2 separate regions of the Homo sapiens genome follow, and region 2 is linked to region 1. Evidence: promoter capture Hi-C in 16 types of primary human blood cells and fetal thymus (Javierre and others, 2016). All regions are on one chromosome and are shown on one strand. The core of a region is centred on a gene start or on the middle of the fragment in contact, and the rest is flanking DNA. Distances in the headings are between cores, read along the strand shown. Region 1 holds the start of NADK2-AS1 (NADK2 antisense RNA 1). Region 2 overlaps SLC1A3-AS1 (SLC1A3 antisense RNA 1).

Evidence for each region. Contacts are between HindIII fragments. The CHiCAGO score rates a contact against its expected background, and 5 or more counts as called.
Region 2: a fragment that was not itself captured here is called in contact with the fragment with the promoter of NADK2-AS1 in region 1 in 1 of 17 cell types (megakaryocytes); the score reaches 5.5 in megakaryocytes.

Annotation. Positions count from the first base shown.
Region 1 is chr5:36,218,624-36,222,946 of GRCh38, reverse strand. It overlaps NADK2-AS1 (NADK2 antisense RNA 1), which reads right to left and starts at 1,892. Exons shown (of 2, transcript NR_170324.1): 1 at 1,538-1,892; 2 at 1,046-1,409. NADK2 (NAD kinase 2, mitochondrial) reads left to right here. Exons shown (of 12, transcript NM_001085411.3): 5 at 3,268-3,351. The HindIII fragment of the contact is 935 bases long and covers 1,786-2,720 here.
Region 2 is chr5:36,703,282-36,705,981 of GRCh38, reverse strand. The region is part of intron 1 of SLC1A3-AS1 (SLC1A3 antisense RNA 1); the gene reads left to right. Among named protein-coding and RNA genes, the nearest start is that of SLC1A3-AS1, 21 kb to the left of the region's middle. The HindIII fragment of the contact is 1,750 bases long and covers 376-2,125 here.

The sequences.
Region 1 (4,323 bases), core at 643-3,142:
GTGGTATTAAAATTGTAACATGTACCAATAAACTCTCCTTTCCTCTCTCCCATCATTCTTGATGAATGAAATCATCTGTGCTGAAGCTGTAACTACCTCTCCCTCACTCTATCATCAAATTGGTCCTAAGTTCTAGGGAACTTACTTTTGAGTCCATCTCTTGCCATCCTCGCTGCCACTAAAAATAGCTCAGCCCTTTATAGTTTGTTTAAATTACTGAACTAGCTTACAGTCTCTCTCCTTCTAACTCATCCTTTACACATTGCCTTAGTCTTCTTTCTAAAGTGCAGATCTAATTGATTATATCCACTTCTTATTAAATCTTTTAGAGTTTCCCATGACCTTCAGGATACATTGTAAATTCCTTAGCATAATACATATTATCTTTCACTGTCTCTTGCCTGTTTGCTTTTCTAGTTTCACCTGTCCTCATATGTCCACAGGCATGACACATTCTTTAGCTTAAAAAATATATTTTTGGAAACTTTTCTAGGATCAGCCTGGGATCCTTTCTAAAAGGCTGTTCTTAACTGCAAAATGTAACTATATGAGTGTCCACCAACATGCTGGTTAGAGGCTCACACAGGGATGCTTTTACTCTGGTGGGGAGCTTTGTTGATATGATGACCCAAGGCGTGATTTGAGAGTAGGTGAAAGAGTTCTCCAGAAGGCCTATGTCCCCCTAACCCACCCACCCATGCCTTTGTATGTGCTTTTGTCAAAAGTTCCCTTATACCACTTACTCACTTCTGTGTTTCTTGTTTGTTCAAGACTGGTGTTTCTCCTGGGTTGTAATTCCCTCTACAGAAAGCACTTATCCCTATATATTTATTTTCTGTTTCTTTTTCTCTTTCATTAGACTATAAATTCCTTGAGTATAGGACCTTGTATTTTAATTTCTCTGTCACTAGCATAGTTTTATACATAGCTGGTAGGCAATAAATGAATTGAAAAATGAATGATTGATTCAGTGATTTTAGGGAATAGGGATAGAACCCCAGTCTAGCTGAGTAAATATTCCCTGAATGTAAATAATAGAGATCATTGGTTCAGTAATTAATTTTTAATTGCCATCAGTGTTGATGCATTTGGGTTTTAGAACTTCTTAATGGCTTATTTTTATATCATTAAGGTAAAAGATCACTTTAGTGATCATATGTTACACAGTTTATTGAACTATATTTTCTTTTGGAAACTGGCTTCATATTCATAAATTTGTGGGAATTTGAAGCTGGCAAGCAATTGTTAATATTGTCATCTCTTCTCTATTTTCTAGCTAGAAGAACAGGTGTTAGAAGTTCTTTGGTTTCTCTTCTTGCCTCCAGGCAGATATGTTAAATTGCCTTCTGGTTTTGTGTATGCTTCAAGTTGTCTGATTTCTTTATCTTAAATATAGTGGTGTCTCAGTCCTTAAAAAAAGCCCAGAAGTTAATGTTCAACTTAAGTTTTTTCTCCTATTTATTAGTTGTCAAATGCTGCATAACTAATCACCCCAAAACTTAGAGGCTTATGACAGTAACAGTGTATTATTTCTTACGGGTTGTGCATGTCGGAGTTCAGGAGCAGTTTGGCTGGGTGGTTTTGGCTTGAGATCTCTCCTGAGGATAAGTAGATGTCAGCTTGGTCTGTAGGCATCTGAAGGCTTGACTTGGGCTGGAGGATCCACTTTCAAGATGGCCCACTCACATGGACTCATCTAAATCAAATGTGTAATTTCTATCCATCTCTTCTGTATTCTATAGCCACTCTACCGAGCCTGGTAAATAATTACAACATTTGAAAGCTTAATATTCAAAATGGGATAGAGGGCATGTGGTAGTCAGCCTCCAAGGTAGCTTCCTAGTATTTAGGTACCCTTTAATGTACTCCTCCCTGCCCCCCAATATTCAATCAAGGATGGCCTGTGTGACCAGTAGAATATGATGTGAGAATGTGTAGGTTCCAAGGCCAGGTCATAAATGGTATTGCAGCATCTGTATTGGTCTTTAGGATTGTTCATTGTGGGGTAGGACAGCCACCATGATGTGAGGATACTCACAAGCAGCTCTGTGGAGAGGCTCACGTAGAGGGTGATTGAGGCCTCCTGCCAATGGCCAGCACCAATTTGCCAGCCATGTGAGTGAGCAACCCTGGAAGTGGTCGTGCTAGTCCAAGTCAAGCCTTCAGATGCCTGCCGCCCTAGCTGATATCTGACTGTAACCTCATGAGAAAGTCTTCTCTCTGCAAGGGTTTTAGACTTGCAGTTGACCTCAGCAGGTATTATTCTATCAAATGACTGTTGATACCTTTTATATACTTAACATTGTGTGAACTATTACAATGAATATAAAAATTTAAAAACCTAGGCCTTACGCTTTCTTAACCTCAGTGTTGACCTGCTTAGATAAAGAAGTTGACTATTCACAACTTTGTAAAAACACTTTTCTGTGCCCTTCACGCTTACAAGTTGATTTACATTTATTATCAGGAGTTTGTTTTGCTAAGCCTACCCTCAGCCTTTTCTTCAAGATTGGAGTATCATTAAATGATGATGACTGAGCCTTCTGGACATCTTTAGGTGCCACATACTCTCATCTACACCAACCAATAGGCAATCTTACCACCTTATAATTTGCAATGGTTTGTTTTAATTTGTCTTCCACATCAAGCTATGAACTCCTTAAAGGAGTTTCATTATTTATGTATTTTTGAATAAATGAAGGATTACATTGGATTAAGCTTTCTCAGTTCTTTTTTAGTGACTTAGGATATCTTAAATGACATTTCAGAAAGGATTATGGTTCAAAACATTTCACATAAATATTTTGATTCCTTTTGAGATTGCTGGTTTATCCTGATTTTGGAGATGAGGAAGCTGATGCTAAAGTGACTTGCCCAAAGTTAATAGTTAAATAATTTAAAGGTTAGAATAAAAATTGGAAGGTTAGTAGTTAAATAATGATTTGAACAACACTGTACCATTAAATAACTTTACAGGGTAATTAGTAGCAGATTTGCTGCTATTTTTAGTTTCATTGTAACGTAGAAACTCACATATTATTATGTATTATGGCATTAAAGCTGGATGTAGACTACTAATTCTATCTGGTCTTTTTTGTTTTTATTTAAAGAACACAATTTTGTGGCAAAAAATGGAATATAGGGTAGACATTTTTAGAATTTCATTTCTTATTTTTATAGCTTAGTGATACCTTTTGATTAAATTTTTTTGCTTCACCTTTTTTCTTTTCCTCTTTATATCACCAAAAAATTCCTGTTAAAATATAGGTCTGAGGGTCATTTATGCCTGCCCGTTCGATATACACATTCCTTTCCAGAAGCCTTACAGAAGTTCTATCGTGGTGAGTTCAGGTAGGAATTTCTTACGGTTGTTCTTATGTAAGTATCTTAATAAGTATGTGCCATTAATAATGCTGTTAAAAAACAGAACAAATCAGGCAGGGCACGGTATCTCACGCCTGTAATCCCAGTACTTTGGGAGGCCGATGCGGGTGGATCACTTGAGCTCAGGAGTTTGAGACCAGCCTGGGCAACATGGTGAAACCTTGTTTCTACAAAAAATACAGAAGTTAGCTGGGCATGGTGGCAAGCACCTGTAGTCCCAGCTACTTGCGGGGCTGAGTTGAGAGGATCACTTGAGCCCAGGAGGTAGAGGTTCCAGTGAGCCGAGATCATGCCACTGCACTCCAGCCTGGGTAACAGAGTGAGACTGTGTCTCAAAACAAACAAACACACAAAAAACCAGAACAAATCAGATAATGTTTGGATTACTCCATAGATATAACAGTAGCCATTAAAAGTAATGTATTAGCTGAGTCACAAATAGGTCTAATTTACCTTCTCCTAGTCCAGTTGGAATTGTGGAGAGAAACCCTGACAAATATTGGTTGGCCTATAATATAACTGCATATAGAAATTTTTTTTCTCCTTCAGTGAGATAGCAGGCATGTCTCTACTTTCTTAACCTCGTTACATGTCCTTATCAGTTTAGTGGAAAGGTAATTAAAACTTTGGCTAAAATTGTTTGAATTTTCAGATTTTATATTTTTTATCTTTATCTCCCATCTAGTAATGATTGAGAGCTGGATTTAATCCAACCATGCTGAGATTCCTGGTATCTGTCTCACATAAAAGTATTTCTTAAGCAGTGGGGATGGGATTTTTAAAAGTTTCTTTTACTTAATGTGTTCAGTGGTCAGACCATCAGGAAAAGAGGAAGGTGGAGGAAGGAGCATGAGGTTGGCCAATTATATTTGAGAGAGCTAAGTTGGACTACTTTTTATTTCCTGACTTGGACTAGATTTTATAGTTGGGGAAAGCTTT
Region 2 (2,700 bases), core at 1-2,500, 480 kb before region 1:
ATCTGTAGCCTCATGGCAGGGACCAGGAGGGGCCTACAGCACATAGGTGGTCCTGCTAGCTAATTGTTTTTCTTTTTTAAAGAGTGATTCAATATTAACCATCTTAAATTGAAAATTATTCTTTTGGCAGATGTCCTCCAAAATGGATTGCCTCATATCTAGTACCCGCCTGCTGCAGGCTTCTTCATCTAGTTCCTCTGGGGACACACTGTGCAGCTAATTCATCCAGGCAGATTCACTGGGAAGCTGTTGCTCATGAGGGTATTTCTGAGACTTTTTTTTGTGACCTTGCTGTATGACTGGTAAGACGCGACTTAGTATTTTCCATGCCAAGAATATCAGAGCCATGACCCATGGTATAGAATGCTGCAAGCTTAGCCTTCATTTGTTGCCATGCTAGAGCAGACTCTGTTTCTCCAGGAAATTCCTGGTTTTGCTCATGGGAGACCCTGCAGATGCTCACTTTGCCACTCGCTGATCTGATCTCAAGAGCATCTGGATCTGCCTTAACCAGCATCTCAGGCTCCCTACGCACTGAGTTCTTGACTGGAAACTAGTAATCTGTATTTCCCTGGGGCCACACTAAAGGGGGATGAGGGGCGGAGTTAAGTTGCAATAACAAGACCAAAGTTGGGTATCTCTGGCTCACTGGCTGTCTCTGTCTAGACTCTCAGGCTTTTCGACCTCCCCTCTGTGTGCTCCACCCTGCAGTCTTCCTGATGATTCCAGAGGCTCCTGCTGTTTCCTTCTCTCCAATCCCCAGGTTGGCCTCCTGGGCCCTGGCTCCCAGGTTGCTGCTCAGGCTGCCTGGATACTTCTCTCTCCTGCTAAATTTCAGTCACAGTGGGCTTTTCTCAGTCTCAACTTTCTATTTTTATTTATTTTGCCCCTGTTGCTGCTGATTCTTTATTCTAACTTACAATAGTATTGCATGTGTTCTTGTTGAAAAGCTCTTCAAATTCTCCATGGACCAATACAGGACACAAATAAGCAAACAAGAATATTAATGTTGATGTCCCTCTCTCCAGCAAAAGATTGGTGATGAGCGTCATCAATTTATTTTAATACAGCACATTGAAAGGGCAGGCGTGGTGGTGCAGATTTCACTCATTTCACTATGGCAATCGAGGGAGGTCTTGGTTGCTGACCAGGAAAGGAAAGCTATACCCAATCAGGCACACTTTCCAGATATTCCAGATAGGTAAATGGTCCATGAAACCATAAAACCAGAAATGAATCTCAGGGATGAAGAGTGGAAAAAAATCATCACCTGGGTCTTTCCTTTTTGTAAAGAAAAGAAAATCAATAGAGCTAACTGCATTTCCGCAGTTGGAAAATGTTTTCTGACATAAATAAAAAGTATAACAATTTTAGGTCAATTGGAGGCATTAACAATCAGATAAAATGGTCATTTTGGATTATGCATCCAGGGTAGAAGTGATCCTGCTGGAAACTTGTGACACTTGTCTGTCTGATTGTTGGTCTCTCTTTTTCTTCTTCTCTTTCTCTCCCTCCTCACCTCTTACTGTGCATTCTTTCCCATATCTTTTCCTCCCTTTGCCTACTACTGGGTGGAGTTTCCATGTGGGCCCCACTGTTGTGCTAAGAATAGCACTAGCTGCTATTTATCAAGGCTTTACCACTTGCCAGGCACTGTGCAGAGCACCCTAGATACATTACCTCACTTATTCTGCCCAACAGCCCTCCAGGAGGATGGGCATATTTGTGTAATGAACCCGGTCTGACATGGTGTTTAATTGCTTTATTATGTTCTTTGTCAGCACTCCAAATAATAAAGTTTGTTGGTATTCTCAACTTTTTCATGCTTGACTTAAAATATATTGTAAATATTATGTTGGCCACTTGAACTAGCAGGCAGATTATGGGGAATTGGAGTTATGCTTTATTATTATTATTATTATTATTATTTATCCTTTCCCTGAGCAGTAATTACTGGCGGTAATGAAAGTTCTGGGAGCTGTTGTTTCATATTGAAATTTAACTGCTTCCTTCCCCAAAGTAAAATAGATACTGGTGAGATGGAGCCAGGATGAGTAAGGGCATAAGATGTAGGAAGGTGTTAAGTTTTGAACTCAACTTCTCCTTATTGGCTCAATATTAAGCTTCATTTTCAATGCATAATTACATGAGAAAATGAAAGTGCCAAGTCTCTACACTGTACATTCCCCAGGCAAGAACTTCCAGGTTGTCTGTGGAAAATCCAGCCTTTTCAGTGGGAAATCAGGAGAGGAAGGTTGGTCAGTGGAGGCTGGGGTTTCTGTTTTGGTTTTTTCTTCCTCCTGGAGTGTACATTACCTCTACTTTGCTCACCGTCCTAGTGAACTCACCTGTGTACAGAGTTCTCCAGAGTTCTTCTGCTTCCCAGGTAAAGCCCTGAAGATTGCTTTCAAAGTCAGAATCTTTGGGGCTCCTGGGACTGGCACATGGTCCACCGCCAGGCAGCCCAGTTTCCACATGGGGGCACGGAGCCAACTGGAGCGCACTGAGGGAGCACAGCCTTGCATCAGATGCTAATGATCTTTCATCACGTGCTCTGACAATGAGGCTAGAACAACCATAGTTGAAACTGATGCAACAGGATGGAAGGGGCTGGGAGCACTGGGAGTTAAGTTACCCTTGTGAAAGGGAAGACAGAAAGGAAGGTTAAAAACAATATCTTGAGGCACTGAATTTAAATTA